Regions from separate parts of the Homo sapiens genome. Here all the other regions are linked to region 1. Evidence: promoter capture Hi-C in 16 types of primary human blood cells and fetal thymus (Javierre and others, 2016). All regions are on one chromosome and are shown on one strand. Each heading gives the region's core, a stretch centred on a gene start or on the middle of the fragment in contact. The rest is flanking DNA. Distances are from core to core; before and after follow the strand shown.

What was found. Contacts are between HindIII fragments. The CHiCAGO score rates a contact against its expected background, and 5 or more counts as called.
Region 2: a fragment that was not itself captured here is called in contact with the fragment with the promoter of UTP25 in region 1 in 2 of 17 cell types (total B cells and non-activated CD4 T cells); the score reaches 5.2 in total B cells.
Region 3: a fragment that was not itself captured here is called in contact with the fragment with the promoter of UTP25 in region 1 in 2 of 17 cell types (activated CD4 T cells and total CD8 T cells); the score reaches 8.0 in activated CD4 T cells.
Region 4: a fragment that was not itself captured here is called in contact with the fragment with the promoter of UTP25 in region 1 in 1 of 17 cell types (total B cells); the score reaches 5.1 in total B cells.
Region 5: a fragment that was not itself captured here is called in contact with the fragment with the promoter of UTP25 in region 1 in 1 of 17 cell types (activated CD4 T cells); the score reaches 5.0 in activated CD4 T cells.
Region 6: a fragment that was not itself captured here is called in contact with the fragment with the promoter of UTP25 in region 1 in 2 of 17 cell types (total B cells and non-activated CD4 T cells); the score reaches 9.5 in total B cells.

What each region holds. Positions count from the first base shown.
Region 1 is chr1:209,826,618-209,829,597 of GRCh38, forward strand. UTP25 (UTP25 small subunit processome component) reads left to right here and starts at 1,355. Exons shown (of 12, transcript NM_014388.7): 1 at 1,355-1,553. The coding sequence starts at 1,447. RefSeq lists an enhancer at 1,395-1,444. The HindIII fragment of the contact is 3,327 bases long and covers 274-2,980 here.
Region 2 is chr1:212,418,475-212,421,174 of GRCh38, forward strand. No RefSeq gene overlaps it. Among named protein-coding and RNA genes, the nearest start is that of PACC1, 4.9 kb to the left of the region's middle. The HindIII fragment of the contact is 9,263 bases long and covers 1-2,700 here.
Region 3 is chr1:212,033,330-212,036,164 of GRCh38, forward strand. It overlaps INTS7 (integrator complex subunit 7), which reads right to left and starts at 2,228. Exons shown (of 20, transcript NM_015434.4): 1 at 2,015-2,228. The coding sequence starts at 2,108. DTL (denticleless E3 ubiquitin protein ligase adapter) reads left to right here and starts at 2,419. Exons shown (of 15, transcript NM_016448.4): 1 at 2,419-2,613. The coding sequence starts at 2,562. RefSeq lists enhancers at 2,079-2,288, 2,167-2,703, 2,449-2,688, 2,704-2,835. The HindIII fragment of the contact is 1,190 bases long and covers 953-2,142 here.
Region 4 is chr1:212,277,841-212,280,562 of GRCh38, forward strand. All of the region lies in intron 1 of LINC02608 (long intergenic non-protein coding RNA 2608), which reads right to left. Among named protein-coding and RNA genes, the nearest start is that of LINC02608, 5.8 kb to the right of the region's middle. The HindIII fragment of the contact is 1,924 bases long and covers 478-2,401 here.
Region 5 is chr1:212,610,053-212,612,894 of GRCh38, forward strand. The region is part of intron 1 of ATF3 (activating transcription factor 3); the gene reads left to right. Among named protein-coding and RNA genes, the nearest start is that of ATF3, 2.7 kb to the left of the region's middle. The HindIII fragment of the contact is 980 bases long and covers 1,069-2,048 here.
Region 6 is chr1:212,788,886-212,791,658 of GRCh38, forward strand. NSL1 (NSL1 component of MIS12 kinetochore complex) reads right to left here. Exons shown (of 6, transcript NM_015471.4): 1 at 2,645-2,773. Among named protein-coding and RNA genes, the nearest start is that of NSL1, 1.5 kb to the right of the region's middle. RefSeq lists an enhancer at 1,565-2,343. The HindIII fragment of the contact is 1,488 bases long and covers 780-2,267 here.

The DNA of each region.
Region 1 (2,980 bases), core at 105-2,604:
AAGCACTCTGTTTCTATAGAACATGGTAGCATAAGTTACTATTAGGAAAAGGATCTCACCATCTTTATCCTGTGGTCTCAAGCAGCCCTGCACACTTGCAAATCCCTAGAATACTGAGTCTACTTTTATATTTTTGCTTTTTCCTGTTTATTTAGGTGTTATTTAAATACATTAAAATTCACCCATTTTAACTGTACAGTTTAACTTTTCTTATGTATACAAGGTGTAACTACTAGCATGATCAAAATGTAAGATGGTTCCTTTACCTTCAAAAGCTTTTCCATCCCCTTTTGTCCGAGTTCAGTTATGAGACACTGGATTGGGTTTCACAGCCTTTTCTAGCATTGACTGGGGTGATTTCAGTAAAGTCACTTTACCTCTCTAGATGTGTTTCTGCTGTTGTTAAATGGGGAATGCTGGAACAGATTTGTTTGCGGGGACTCTTCCAATACTTTCAGAAAATGCGAGAATAGGGTGAGGGTGGGAATCTCAGACTTGTGGGCCCCATGATTGATATAACACACACAGGCGGCAGACCCTAATGGGTAAAAGCATGTGGTTGCATCAGTTAAGGTTTTTCTCTCTTCTCTTGCTAGCGTGTTATCTTTTCTTTTCTTTTCTTCTTTTTTTTTTTTTTCGAGATGGAGTCTAGCTTTTGTCGCCCAGGCTGGAGTAGGCTGGAGTGCAGTGGAGTGATCTCGGCTCATTGCAACCTCCACCTCCCGGGTTCCAGCGATTCTCCTGCCTCACCTCCTGAGTAGCTGGGATTACAGGCGCCCGCTACCACGCCCGGCTGATTTTTGTACTTTTAGTAGAGACGGGGTTTCACCATGTTTGGCCATGCTGGTCTCGAACTCCTGACCTCAGGTGATCCGCCCATCTCGGCCTCCCAAAGTGTTGAGATTACAGGCGTGAGCCACCGCGCCCGGCCGCTAGCGTGTTATCTTTTCTAAGCATCAGTTTCCTTATCTGCAACACCAGGCTTATTAACAAGACCTATCTGTACACTGTTGTGGTGATGAAGTGAGATGTTCAGGCACCCTTAAATGTTGGTTGATATTTTTATTGCAGTATACTGTAAAGTCACTGCATTCGACTATCTCCGCTACTACACATTTACGCAGACTGATTTCCATAACCAAAACACAAGCACAAAGCTCATGCCCCCGACTCACGCAACCCGGGAAGCCCAGCTGCCCACGTTCTAGGGCTCTGAGAACACTAGTGAACGAACTCCCGTGCTTTCAAAGAGCTGCGGTAGGGGGCAGAACCGGGAACCGGATGTTCTAAGCCTGTCGTACGAGCGCGACGTAAAGCGGATCTGCTTTATGGCACCTTGCTTTCGCCGTAAAGCGCAGTCAGCGAGCCCACGTGCTTGTGTTGACTGGACAACTTCCTGGTGGAAAACCGCGACTCTTGCAAGTGGGCAAACTTGACGTTTTCGCTATGGGCAAACGCGGGAGCCGGAGCCAGAGCCAGCTACTCAACACCCTAACTAAAAAGCAGAAGAAACATCTTCGAGATTTCGGCGAGGAGCATCCCTTCTATGACAGGTCTGAAGGGGCGTGGCAGGGCTCCCCAGTCGCCAGAGATGTATCCTCGAGTTTGGTCCTCTGGTCTCCCAGATAGTGCTGCTCCGGCCTTTTCCCACTATTCCCTGGCTCCCGCTGTGCTCGGCCGGGGAGATTCTGGCGCCATCCCGCCGGGAGATGGAGTGCTTCACGGGCCTTTTTGTTGAGCCTGTAATTTCCTGCTAAGAGGCACGCCCGTTGTGTGGGGGAGGATTTTTTTTTTTTTTTTAAGACGGTGTTTCGCTCTGTCGCCCAGGCTGGAGTGCAATGGCGCGATCTTGGCTCACTGCAACCTCTGTCTCCTCCCGGGTTCAAGCGATGCTCCTGCCTCAGCCTCCCGTGTAGCTGGGATTACAGGCGCCCGCCACCAAGCCCGGCTGATTTTTTGTATTTTTAGTAGAGATGGGGTTTCACCATGTTGGCCAGGCTGGTCTTGAACTCCTGACCTCAGGTGATCCACCCACCTCGGCCTCCCAAAGTGCTGGGATTACAGGCGTGAGCCACCGCGCCCAGCTATGGGGGCGGATTTTTGTGTGGTCAGAGATCTAGGAATTTTTTGTAGACACACATATATATATGTATATATATAATTTTTTTTTTTTAAGACAGAGTCTCGCTTTGTCGCCCAGGCTGGAGTGCAGTGGCGCGATCTCAGCTCACTGCAACCTCCGTCTCCCGGGCTTAAGCGATTCTCCTGCCTCAGCTTCCCGTGTAGCTGGGATTACAGGCGCCCGCCATCACACCCGATCAATTTTTTGTATTTTTAGTTGAGACGGGGTTTCACCATGTTAGCTAGGGTGGTCTCGAACTACTGACCTCGGGTGATCTGCCCGCCTTGGCCTCCCAAAGTGCTGGAATTACAGGCGTGAACCACCGCGCTTGGCCTGTTTTTATAATTATTTTTAACTTACATAAAATGATTGTACATATTTGTGGGATACAGTGTGATATTTTGATAACAATACATGTACCCAATGTGTAATGATCAAATCCGGGTAATTAGCATATTCATCATCTCAAACATCAATTCTTTGCGTTGGGAACATTGAAAATCCGCTCTTCTAGCCATTTGAAAATATACAATAAATTGTTAGTTATAGTCACATCATATGTTGTGTGTGTTTTTAAAGAATTTGTTGGGACATCATTGATCTTTGCAATTACGATAAGGAACTAAGTGTATTAGTAGTTGTGGTTTCTCTAGAAATGTCTAGGTGCAGTTATGATCTCAATGCTCATCCCACTACTTTGGGCTGCTTTGTCATCAGTTAGGGACATTCTTTTTTTCTTTTCTTTTCTTTTTTCTTTTTTTTGAGGCAGGGTCTCACTTCGTTGCCCAGGTTGGAATCCAGTGCTGCAATCCTGGCTCACTGCAGCCACCACCTCCTGGGCTCAAGCGGTCCTCCTGC
Region 2 (2,700 bases), core at 79-2,578, 2.6 Mb after region 1:
GTATAGACAATATCAATTCACTGAGACCATGGCATTGCAGTAAAGAAAGAGTTTAACTGACTGAGGCCACAGGGAGACAGAGTTATTACACAAATCAATCTCCCCAAGCATTTGGGGGCCAGGGGTTTTCAAAGGTAGTTTGTGGGATAGGATAGGGGTGGGTGCTTGCTATTGATTGGTTGGGGTTGCAATCACAGGGGTGTGGGAAATGGTCCTCCAGTGCACTTAGTCACTGCTGGGTGGGGGCCACAGGAGTGATTGGTGGGTCCAGGTGGAGCCATCAGTGTCGGACATGCAAAAAACCCGAAAAGACATTTCAAAAAGCCAAGCTGAGGTTCTACGATAGTGACGTTATCTGCAGGAGTAATTGGGGAAGTTGCAATGTCTTGTGACCTCTAGAATAATGGCTGGCAATCATTTACATGTATACCTTAGCAGGAGGCATTTTCAGGAGTCAGGGCAAGGGAGAAGCCAGGGCTTTTTTTTCCCTGTTCTCTGCCTCTCACAGTTTCCCTTCCATGGCTCCAGCCCCTGATACAAAGGCTTTTTGTGGTCCTAGCTTCAGCCAGGTGACTCAGGCCCTTAGACTCTAATAAACACCACTGTTGCCTGGCGTGGTGGCTCACGCCTGTAATCCCAGCACTTTGGGAGGCTGAAGCGGGTGGATCACCTGAGGTCGGGAGTTTGAAGCCAGCCTGACCAACATGGAGAAACCCTGTCTCTACTAAAAATACAAAGAATTAGCCGGGCGTGGTGGCGCACACCTGTAATCCCAGCTACTCGGGAGGCTGAGGCAGGAGAATCACTTGAACCTGGGAGGTGGAGGTTGCAGTGAGCTGAGATTGTGCCACTGCACCCCAGCCTGGGCAACAAGAGCAAAACTTCATCTCAGAAAAGATACATAAAAATAAATAAACACCCCTGTTACCCTTCCATTGGCTGGAATGGTGACTTCCTGCTGTTGATACTCTTGGTTGCCTCAGGGTTATTGTCTCAGCTTCTTTCATCACCTGTGTAACTGGCTCCCTGTATTCAGCCATTCTGTTCTATCCAGAATGGTTTCTATTTTGGGAGAGAGAGCATCAGGATAAATAGCTAATGCATGTGGGGCTTAATACCTAGGTGATGGGTTGATAGATGCAGCAAACCACCATGGCACACGTTTACCTATGTAACAAACCTGAACATTCTGTACATGTATCCCAGAACTTAAAATAAAATAAAATTTTAAAGAAAAAGAATACTTTCCATTTTTCTTGCCGGTGACTAACGGATTCCAAGTGCTTTGGAAAAATATGTCTGGGTTCAAGTAGAAAATGACAATCAGAGGGGTGCCTGGAGAAATCCAAGGGCCTATAAGCATGTTATTCATGTATAGACTTATCCTCAGCATCTCAGGGAGGGGGGAGTTATATGGGATCAGTAGAAATTAGAAGGGTCTTTTGGCTTAAAGATGTTCCTTACAAACAGAACTGTAGAAAGAGAAAGGGCCCAAGCAGAGAGGCAGTACAAGGTATGATAGGGATGTTATCGTGACATGCATCAGGAAGGGGATGATATTCAATTCGGGGGTTTTCAAGGGCCTCCTCCATCCCCAGAGATCTTGTGACACAGTGTAATGTAGATACTGCACTTCGAGGTTTACAATTCCACTACCATTGTTAGTTTTAACACAGTCCTATGAAAGAGGCAGGCTGGCATGTTACTAATGTGGAAATTGAGATTCAGAGTAAAGTTAATGCACACAGATCCTGTTTAAGTCACTCTGCACTAGAAACCCATCCTGTTAAATAAGTAAAAGTATAAACATTTGGTATAGTCGCTGGGGGGAAGGATAGCCTGGTGGTTATGGCAGGCTGTAGGACACATGGCCTGTGCTTGACTTGGCTCTGTCACCTACTGTGAGAGCTACGTGAGGTACTTAAGGTCCCCTGACATAGTAATAGTTATGTCCCAGAGTTAAAGTGAGGATTAAAAGAGCTTATAAACATCAAAGTGCTGAAACCAGTACCTGGCATACAGTGAGCCCTTTTCTGGTCTCCTTTGCCAGTTCTACCAACCACCAAATGTTAGGAGCTCAGTCCCCTCTGTCCACATGCACTTCCCTTGGCGATCTCAGCCATTCCTGTGGCTTTACATACAACACCTATGCCAGTGAATTCCAAAATTTCTATCTCCAGCCCAGAACTCTCCCCTCATTCTAGACTTGTATATTTAATTGCCAATTTGATACCTTCAGTTAGATGTCTAACACACATCACAAACTGAACAAGCCCCAAATTGATCTTGATCTTCTCCTCCAAAACCTACTCCTATATCAATAAATGGCAATTCCATCTTTCTAGTTACTCAGGGCAACAACCTCCAACTCACCTCTGACTCCTCTCTGTTTCTTACATCCCAAGTCTCATCTGTCAGCAAATTCTATCAACCACATCTTCAAAACATATCCATAGTCAACCACTTCTCACCACATCCCCAGGCACCACCCTGGTCCAAGCAGCCATCATCTCCCACCTGGATTATTGCAGTAGCCTCCCGGCTTCAGCCAGAGTTATTCCATTAACATTTAAACTTATTCTGTCACAGGTGTCCTAACCAGAATGACTCCATCTTGAATAAAGGCCATATAAAGCCAAAAAAAAAAAAAAAAACTGCTGGGTGACTTTCTCAGGAAGTTAGGCACTCTTTATCACAAGA
Region 3 (2,835 bases), core at 298-2,797, 2.2 Mb after region 1:
TTAATTTCCTAACAGCTTTAAAAGTTACTACAGATGAGATGAAAAAGAACAAGTCATCTTTCTGAGCCTGAGATTCACCTGTAAAACACTCACGCCAGGCATTGCTGGGAGGAGTGCAAATGATCACTTACTCTGTGTCTAAGATTGACACCTGATTTCTTTCCTATAGATATAAAATATTTTCATTTCAACTCTTCTTTAAAAAGGAAAAATTGTGGTTTTTTTCTTACAACTGCAAAATTTGAGGAATTAAACCATTCTAGACTCCTCTTCAGTGCCCCATCTTTATCCCTGTTCCACAACCACTATCCTATTGTCAGCATGAGACAAGCTCAGCTGCACCAGAATGGTAGAAAATGTCCTTAGAACTCGTAGGGATATTAGATATTATCCTGACCTGTAACTTTCACTGAGGAATAAGAAAGAAATGTATCAGAATGAGGAGGAAAGTGTTTGAAAAACACATTTAAGGCCGGGCGCGGTGGCTCATGCCTGTAAATCCCAGCACTTTGGAAGGCCGAGGCGGACGGATCACCTGAGGTCAGGAGTTGGAGACCAGCCTGGCCAACATGGTGAAACCCCGTCTATACTAAAAATACAAAAATTAGCCGGGCGTGGTGGCGGGCGCCTGTAATTCCAGCTACTCGGGAGGCTGAGGCAGGAGAACCGTTTGAACTCGGGAGGCGGAGGTTGCAGTGAGCCGAGATGGCGCCACTGCACTCTAGCCTGGGCAACAGAGCAACACTCTGTCTCCAAAAAAAAAGAGAAAAACACATTTAGTATTATACTTTTTTTTTTCAGAGGAGAAAACCCCTAAAGATTTGGTAAGAGAAGGAAAAGTTCAACATAATTTTCTTGGTTGATGGGGGTGCACTAAAGATACTGAGACTCAACCAAAGGAATATCCCATTAGGGGGCTGTGAAATTTTTGTGTTTATCAAAATAAGGTAAAAGCTTTTTTAAGAGCCTGAGAAACTCTTATTTAGACTAACCCACTAAAAATATTCACAGTTTAAAAAATAAACAGAAAAAGAGTCCCAAAAAAGTTAATAGACATGTCCAACTCAGAAAACTGGGAAGTGGCTCAAACCCTTCTGAGTTCTAGTCCAGTTCTCCAACATTATATATTGGCTACGATTAATCAAGATTTAATTGTATACCAGCTGCCGAAATGTTTCCCGTACAATAAAAATCCTCAATATGAAATAAAGGTTTCATATTACTAGTCGAGTTCTTTACTAACAAATTTCCGACCTTGCCTCCCATATCCACATCTAAGAAGGGAGGTATATCTCTTCAGCATTTACTAAATGCTTCTTTTGCATACCATTAAGTCACTTAATACAATTCTGCCGGCTCAATGGTACTGTACCCACTTTGCAGACGACAAGCCGAGGCTAGATGAAGTTAATCATAAAATCAGCGGCATTGAAACTTAACTCAGTGTAACCCCAAAGCTCCCTCTACACCAAGCTGCTCCCTGTACGGCAACAGAACTCCTGGAACTTGTCCGCAGAGAATGAGCAGGGCCCTTGCTTTTTTATGGTCTTGGCCAGGTTTAGCCTGCCTTGTAACCCGCAGGTAACAGAGCTATGGAAATCAAATGAATCGCTGTCAAGTCGGTGCAAGATTACTATTCAGCACATTTCATGAAGACCTGGTCTCAACTGAACAGACTGAAAACCAATTTCACAATTTCTTTGCAGTGTCTCTTAGAAACTAGCCACTGTCACTGCTTAGAAAATCGGGGGACTGCTCCCTCAAGTGGTCAAAACGGGCCTCTCACTAGAGCTCGCTACTTGTTTAGCCGGTATAAGGCCAGTCACACAATCCTGCAAATTTCCCGCAACCTCCCGAAGGGGTCAAAGCCCACGCCCCAGCAAAAGCACAGGCGCTCCCCGCCCAGCGAAGACATGCGCATGCGCCTATCCGTCTTCTCCCAAAGCAACCACCACCTGGTGGCGCCACTTCCCCCCACGCCTGTTTCACCCATTCAGCCCTCTCTTTCGAATACCTTTGTCCAATTCCATAAGGGCAGAGTTGGCATCCAGTTCCTGTTCGCCATAGCCGGCATCTGCCAGGAAAGACTTAGTTGAGTTTGACGCCATGACCCGAATAGTTACTCGACTAGCCTAGTCAGAAAGCTTGCAAACTCTACCCCAGGACCGCCATCTTCCCCCGCCGCCTTCTTGCTGGTTTTTCTTCCGCGCGCTGTCAAGCCCTGTTACGCATGCGCCCTGGTCACCCCGCGGTTTGTCCGCGCCTCTGCTACCCCCTGCGCAGGCGCTCAAGGAGCTCTTGGACTCCAGGTTCCCGCGGCTGGGAGAAAAGGAGGCGGGGATCCGAAGGGGGAAATGACTCTGAGGCGCCCGGACGTCGCTCGGAAGCCAATCAGAGAGCGTGACGTCAGTTTGGCGCGGAGTTTGGCGGCCGGGGCTTACAGTGGCGGGAGTTGGAGGCGATAACGATTTGTGTTGTGAGAGGCGCAAGCTGCGATTTCTGCTGAACTTGGAGGCATTTCTACGACTTTTCTCTCAGCTGAGGCTTTTCCTCCGACCCTGATGCTCTTCAATTCGGTGCTCCGCCAGCCCCAGCTTGGCGTCCTGAGAAATGGTGAGTAACGGTCCCAACCGCTGCTCGGAGCTGGCGGAATTCATTTCCCCCGAAACACACGCCACCTCCGACCAGGGCCGACTCCAATTCTGAACTCAGCTTCTGAGTTCTCCCATGGCAAGGGTAAATTAGTGTTAGCAGGGACTACTAAAGAAAGCTGTACTTTCATCCCCTCGGGACACTTGTAATCGTAATCGGGCTTTTAAAATCGTAACGTAGGCA
Region 4 (2,722 bases), core at 190-2,689, 2.5 Mb after region 1:
TGACAAACAGAAGGCACTTGGAAAGTGTTTGCAGGGTTGAATTAAAGTGTGGAGAGTTTGCTAACATCAGGTTCTTTCGTCCCACTCTGCAAGGGCAAGGGTATATTGGCATGAGTTGAGCCCCTTCAAACTATGTCCTGGTTCCTCATCTATACAGGTAAAGAAATGGGTAGACAAGGGGCTATTGAACATTTATGATTACAGCCCATTTAGATGGGGCAAAAGATTTCATAGTTATGGAAAGATGATTCAGTGATAATCAGAAAGTATAAATACAGGAGCAGGTTTTCGGGGATTAATAATACCTCTGCTGTATCAACAGCCCACATTCAGTCTATCTGCAAATCCTATATACTCCTCGTCCAAAATAAATCTCCAGTCTAGCCATCTCTACTGCCACTGGCCTAGTCTAAGCTCCTGGTTGACCAACACAATAGCCTGTACAATAGCCCACAACAAATGAGGTGAATCATAATAAGCTTAACTAAAAGAAGTTTAAAGTTAAAAAGCAAAAATGGCAGCAATTGAAAATCATGATGTCTAATCATATCAGTATGTTCTTGTGCTTGCAAAATGGCCAGATAGACAATATGGAATTAGAATTCTTTAAAAAGATCTAGAAAAGTAGATAGTAAAATGGTTACTCTAGTAAAGCAGATTAATAGATCTACCCTCTTACTTAGTTACCTTTTTGTGACAAGAGCAGCTATGATCTACTTATTTAACAAAAAACGCCTAATATAATACAATTTTTATTAACTTTCCTCCTACATTAGATCTCTAAACTTATTCATCTTACATACATGCTGTTTTGTATCCTTTGACCTACACCTCCCTGTTTCCTCTTCCTCACTGCATCCCACTGTTTCATTCTCTGTGTATTTGAACTCCTTTTTTTTTTTTTTAAAATCTACACATAAATGAGATCATGCAATATTTTTCTGTATCTGGCTTATTTCATTTAGCATAATGTCCTCTAGGTCCATCCATGTTGTGGCAAATAGCAGGATCTCCTCTTAGAGGGCTGAATAACATTCCATTATATATATATTATATATATAAAATGTGTCTGTATAATGCATATAATGCATGTGTATATATATATTATATATATAAATAATATCCCATTATACACACACACGTACATACCATTTTCTTTATATTTTCGTCTATTGATGGACATTTAGGTTGTTTCCATGTATTCCCTATTGTGCATAATGCTGCACTTAACATTGGGAATGCACATATCTTTACCAGTGGTATTTCATATTCTTTGGATATACATCCACTAGAAGGATTGCTGGGTCATGAGGTAGTTCTATTTTGAATTTCTTCAGGAACTCCATGCTGTTTTTCATAATAATTGTACCAATCTACATTCCCACCAATTGTGTACTAGGGTTCCCTTTTCTCTACACCCTCGCCAACATTTGTTGCCTATTGTCTTTTTGGTAATAGCTATCCTTATGGATGTGAACTGATATCTCCTAGTGGTTTTAATTTGCATTTCCCTGATGATAGTGATATCAAGTACATTTTCATATACCTGTTGACCTTTTTTTTTTTTTTTTGAGACAGAGTTTCACTCTTGTTGCTTAGGCTGGAGTGCAATGGTGCAATCTTGGCTTACTGCAACCTCCGCCTCCCGGGTTCAAGCGATTCTCCTGCCTCAGCCTCCCAAGTAGCTGGGATTACAGGGACCCACCATAATGCCTGGCTAATTTTTTGTATTTTTTTTTAGTAGAGACGGGGTTTCACCATGTTGGCCAGGCTGCTCTCGAACTCCTGAACTCAGGTGATCCACCCACCTCAGCCTCCCAAAGTGCTGGGATTACAGGCATAAGCCACCGTGCCCAGCACCTGTTGACCATTTTTATGTCTTCTTTAGAGAAATGTCTGTTCAGGTCTTTTGTCCATTTTTATTTTATTTATTTATTTGTTTTTGAGACAGAGTCTCCCTCTGTCATCCAGGTTGGAGTGCAGTGGCACTATCTCGGCTCACTGCAACCTCTGCCTCCTGGGTTCAAGTGATTCTCGTGTCTCAGCCTCCCAAGTAGCTGAGACTACAGGTGTGCACCACCACGCCCAACTAACTTTTGCATATTTAGTAGAGATGGGGTTTTGCCACGTTGGCTAGGCTGGTCTCAAACTCCTGGCCTCAAGTGATCTGCTTGCCTTGGCCTCCCAAAGTGCTGGGATTACAGATGTGAGCCACTGTGCCCAGCCTTGTCAATTAAAAAAAAATTTTTTTTTTAGGTTATTTATTTTTCTGCTATTGAGTTGTAAGAGTCCTTTATAAATTTTGGATACTAACCCCTTACCAGATATGTGGTTTGCAAATTTTTTTTCCATTCCATAGGTTACCTTTTCATTTTGTTGATTGTTCCCTTTGCCATGCAGAAGCTTTTTGGTTTGATGTGTCCCATTTAGTTTTTTTGCTTTTGTACCCTTTTTGATATAATATAAAAACAAAAATCATTGCCAAGGCCAATGTCAAGGAGCATTTTCCCTATGTTGATTTTAAGATGATTTTAGTGTATGGTATAAAGGTCCAATTTCATTGTTTTCATGTGGATGTATGGTTTTCCTAGCATCTTTATTGAAGAGACTATCATATACGGTTGAATTTATCTCTGGGCTCTCTATTCTGTTCCACTGGTTTATGTGTCTGTTTTTATGCCAGAACTATTCTGTTTTGATTACTATAGCTTTGTAATATACT
Region 5 (2,842 bases), core at 309-2,808, 2.8 Mb after region 1:
CAGACAGTGGGGGAAAGGGGACTTTTCTGCAGGGCATCTTTTCCCTCACCAGCTTTCTTTCCACTGGATTCGTTCTCCTTCTCTGCTCCCCCCACTCCCATTTTCATTTCTCATCTACTTCCTTTCCTCCTAAACATTTTCTTTTCCCTAATTTCATTGCATAGGTCACATATGCTTTCTTACAAATAAAATAGTTACTAAATCCTTGATGAACCCAGAAAGAAAAGGAGAGCCAGAAAATCTGGATGTTCTCTCAGTGTACCCCTTTCGTTGTAGGTGACAGTCATATCTTCTGTTCGAAGTTTCTGTCTCTGTAACTTAAAGTGAAGGCAAAAAATTGGTATTACTGTCCCCATTGTTTTGCAGTTAGCATTGGTTGTAGAATAATGCTACAACATACAGGCTCCTGCTTTGAGGATATCCTGGGCAAAGATGGGATGGGGTGAGGATTGCAGTTACTGTCGGAATGGTTTCAGAGACAGCAAAGAAGGCAGCACCCCACGCCCGCAGTGGGGATAAGATACAGCACCCAGCATCTGTGGCAGTGATGGGAGCCTTCTTTTTCTCTCTCTCTTCCTCCTTGCCCTTTAGCCATTATAGAATTCCTTTTTCTCCATGGCCGTTTTCTTCGATAGCCCCTCCCTATCTCAGTCCTGTCAAAGTCTCCTCTGTGATTGGTACCAGGTGCCAGGACTCTTGACCCCTTATCTACCTGGCTAATGGCTCTGTTCTCTGGTTGCCTTGTTGGTTGATCCCTTGAGGCGGTCGATACCTATTGGTGATGGAGCAAAATGAGCAGTCGGTGGGTGTTCAGCAGCTTGGCATGGGCTGGGCCACTCACCAGCTTTATGACCTCAGGCAAGTCATTTTTACCTCCCTGGACCAATGTACTCATTATGAAATGAGAATCTGACCTAGATGATTCTAATATTGAGAGGGTGTGATTTCCATTAGATAGAGTCCATGATTCCTTCCTTTTTAAAATTGGCTGGGCATGGGACAGGGCCAGTGGCTTCGAGTGTTTACCCAGCCAGGGGAGGAGGAAGGACATAGCCAAGATGCCTCAGAAGCTTTCCAAGGGAGAAATGGTTTATATGTGAGAATTGGTTCTCTTTCAAATATGTAATGCAGAAATGCTGGCATCAGCAAATAGTGGGGTGAAACCTACCTGGTCTGTGAAGAACTTGGGGTCAATGAGAGTACAAAAGAGGCTCTGACTGACCTGAATGTCTTGAAGGTTCCAGTTAATTCCTCACTAACAGGGCTTTATTGAATTGATAACAACAGAATGAGTTTTTCCTGAAATGGAGAAGATGGAGTCACAGTAGTAATGACTACCCGGTGTGTATGTAAATCTCATATGTCCTTCTCAACAGCCCTTTGGGGAAGGCAGTTTTGATCTCAAATTACAGAGGAAGAGAATGAGAGGCCCAGAAAGCCTAAGTGATTTGTTGGTGGATGCTCAGCTTATGAGTGGCACTGATAGGCTTAGAAACATTGTCTCTGGCCCTTGATGCCCAGCTTTGCACCTCTTCAAGAGGTCTGGGAGGAAGACCAAGATATGAAGAGTTAGTGAAAGGCCAGTACTGGCTTCCTAGTAACATAAGATGGTTAGCAAGCAATGCTTAGTGGAAAGAGGATGAAAATTAAAAGTGAAAATTCAATGTAGCTGTAGCTACTAGGAAATAAAAATCTGGGAGCTGAATTTCCAGTTAAAGGAATACATGAGTAAACTTTCACTTTCTTGAAAATGATGAAACTGCCAATGATACAACATGATTTCTGATTGGAAATAATCAAGCAGAAACAAAATGCAAGTTCTTGGTAGCAAGTCTGAACAATTTTATGATCAGCATAGAAAGTCAACTCTGATCTGAGGTCCCCAAACAATTTTTTTCAATGACCGGGATGTTTGAGGATCTCAACTTTCTGAAAAATTGTGTGAAGATTTAACTTCATTTCCTTGTGGGGACACAGCCGTAGTCTAGGCTGAATCATACCTCGAGAGACTGAGTAAAGGAATAACTAGAAAGTATCCCGAGAAGTTAAGCTTTAGCCTAGTGCCGAGAAAACCCAAATCTCGACAGATACATCTGTTTTATTTTCTGAAAGGCTTTTAACATTTTTACAACCATTTATGTCCCCAAGGAAGCCCACCCAATGCTTTTCATAAAAGCATTCCATACCACTGACATTCTTCAGCTTCTTTCATTGGGACTGCTGACTTTACATAAGAAGAAGGGTAGGGGGCGGGAGTCATAAACAGCAGACCCCAAGCCCTGAGAGCTCATTAATAAACCTAGTTGGATGGCAAAATGGAACTACACTCTACTGCAGTGGAATTCAAAGTCCCCGTGTAGAAGGGAGCCATCCAGGCCTCCAAACAAAGACCAGCCCAGTGGCAGCTCTGAATGTCATCCCCGAATCACTGAGTTTTTAATAAACTTGGAAAGGGAAGGGAAACATGAATGCATGGGAGAATCTTAAGCCTCTGGCTTTAGAAGGCTAGTTTCTCAGAGTTTATTGCCTGACAGCGACAAGTATCCTCCCAGCATCCTAAGATTATAGGATTAAATTGAGAGAAGAACTTCAGTTCTGACTCATGACACAGGGCTTTGGGAAAAGAATTACATACATAGCCTGGGTTTCTTTGACTAGTCAAGGGCAGATTTCATTGGCCTGGAAGTCTTGCCTCCATTGGTGTATGTTAGATCTCCAGGGGGAGTTTGAAGTCAGGGTATTCTATTCAGAAGCCTTTGAGATCAAAGTGGGTGACCAGCTGCCCTCCTTCCTGGACTCCACAGAGCCTCTGTCAGAGAGCCAGCCCTGGGCTGGAGAGATC
Region 6 (2,773 bases), core at 274-2,773, 3.0 Mb after region 1:
ATCAGCATGACATTATTAATGGAGACAAACAAACATAAACAGAGAGAAAGAGGTAAAGCCACAGAAAGGGGGTATAGAAAGTTTACTCTCCCCAAGTACTCTCCAAAATAGTACCTTATGTCCTAGAAGGAAGAGGGATGGGGAAGGGGAACTCAAAGAATTTTGCTTTATGCTACTGTTTGAATTTTTTTATGAGCATATATTTTGTACCCTTTGTATAATTAAAAATAACATAAACCAAATTACTGATAATTATGAGTTAAAGTACATATTCTACATTTCAAAGATTTCATAAAGTAAAATCCTTATTTTATTTTTTGTTTGTTTGTTTTTTGTTTTTTTTGAGATGGAGTTTCACTCTTGTCAACCAGGCTGGAGTGCAATGGCGCAATCTTGGCTCACTGCAACCTCCGCTTCCCAGGTTCAAGCGATTCTCCTGCCTCAGTCTCCCGAATAGCTGGGATTACAGGCAAGCGCCATCACACCCGGCTAATTTTTGTATTTTTAGTATAGACAGGGTTTCACCGTGTTGGCCAGGCTGGTCTGGAACTCCTGACCTCAGGTGATCCGCCCGCCTCAGCCTCCCAAAGTGCTGGGATTACAGGCGTAAGCCATCGCGCCCGGCCTATGTATGTTTTAAAATTATTTTCTAGAATTACTTTCAAGAATTGCTGAGAAAACATATTGTCTTTGTAACATTCATTGCAGACTGCTACCAATACTGTTTTTAAAGAAAATCTGCTACTTAATATGCAGTTTTAAACAGAGATACAAAATAAAGCTTCTGCTTTATTTAAAATAAAACACAAGTGAATTCCTGTGGTAGTCTAAGCCCTGTAAACTTTATCTTATAATTCACTTTATCGTCCCACTAAATAGGATATAATAGGTTAAGCCAAGTTCCTCTTTTTCTGTAAGACACCTAAATGTTTTAAATACCTTAGCATTTCCTAGAATCAGACAAATTCTAAGATTATACAACAAAAGTCTTCTCCCAAAAAACTACTAAAAACGTCCTGAGATATATCCCTATTCTTGCCTTGCTTGCAAGGAGGGAATGACGTAAGAGTCACTATATACAAAACTACATACAGAGTCACAACCCAGGAAGTGTTTCTTCATTCTTCCACTGAACCTTTTTTTTTTGAGATGGAGTCTCGCTCTGTCACCCAGGCTGGAGTGCAGTGGCGAGATCTGGGCTCACTGCAAGCTCCGCCTCCCGGGTTCACGCCATTCTCCTGCCTCAGCCTCCCGAGTAGCTGGGACTACAGGTGCCTGCCACCATGGCCGGCTAATTTTTTGTATTATTATTATTATTGTTTTAGTAGAGACGGGGTTTCACCATGTTAGCCAGGATGGTCTCGATCTCCTGACCTCGTGATCCGCCCGCCTCGGCCTCCCAAAGTGCTGGGATTACAGGCGTGAGCCACCGCGCCCGACCCCTTTTGCCTGTTTTAGAGTGAAAACATTTTCTTTACAAGACTAAAATAGGTTAAAAAAAATTGTGTTGGTTGAAAACTTTACTAAGATCATACATTTGCCTCTATACCACATTTCCCAAGCCTTTCTTAAATATTTTTGCAAAGCCCTGAAGGTGGTAGTTTTTTGGGAACACAAGAAATAAAGGGATTGTGTGCTTCCTTATAACAGGCACCAATCTACTTATATTAGCGGAAAAAATTTAAAAGCTCATAATACCGCACATTTGTGAGTTATGAATGACCACAGTGCAAACAGTAAAAATAAAGGTTAATAGGCCGGGCGAGGTGGCTCACGCCTGTAATACCAGCACTTTGGGAGCCCAAGGCGGGCGGATCACGAGGTCAGGAGATCGAGACCATGCTGGCTAACACGGTGAAACCCTGTCTCTACTAAAAACACAAAAAAATTAGCCGGGCGTGGTGGCAGGCGCCTGGAGTCCCAGCTACTCAGGAGGCTGAGGCAGGAGAATGGCGTGAACCCAGGAGGCGGAGCTTGCAGTGAGCCGAGATCGCGCCACTGCACTCCAGCCTGGGCGACAGAGCGAGACTCTGTCTCAAAAAAAAAAAATAAAATAAAATAAATAAATAAATAAAACATGCAAAAGGAAAGATCAAATGCTGCTTGGGTGAATGGCTGACTTCCAGAATTACCCTTTCCAGGAGAATTCCTCATTGTCTGCGGCTGCATTGTCCAACAGGTGAGCCACTAGCCACTTTGTAGTTACTGAGCGCTTAAATGTAACTAGTTCGAAGATGTGCCGTAAATGCAGCACACCAGATTTGAAAAGCTTAGTACGAACAAAAGAATGTAAAATATCTCATTCATTTGATATTATTACATGTTAAAATACCTTGGATTTATTGGGTTAAACAAAATGTCTTATTTCCATTAACTTCACCTATTTCTTACTTTTAGTTTAAAACTACATAAAGATTAGCTTGCCTTGTATTTTCACTGGACAGCGCTGGTCTAAGTAATTAATAAGACCCAGCTGACATTAGCATCTATTTCTTTCTCCTCTAGCGTTTCTCGAACTGGTTCTACAGTAGCCTGGGGCACCGTTAATTCTGCCAAGGCCTGGCGTGGGATCTTTCTGAATCCTAAGATCCTGGGTGTTGGGTAAGAGGATGATGAGTAAAGAACTGGCTAACTGGTCCCGTACCCACTGCGCATCTCGCAGAGCGGGCTCCCGAATCTCCTCCGGCAGAGCGTCCCCGAGCTTTTGCACGAAGCGGCCGCACAGTTGTAGCATTTCGGTCACAGCCCGCTTCGAGGTGCAGCGCACCCGAAA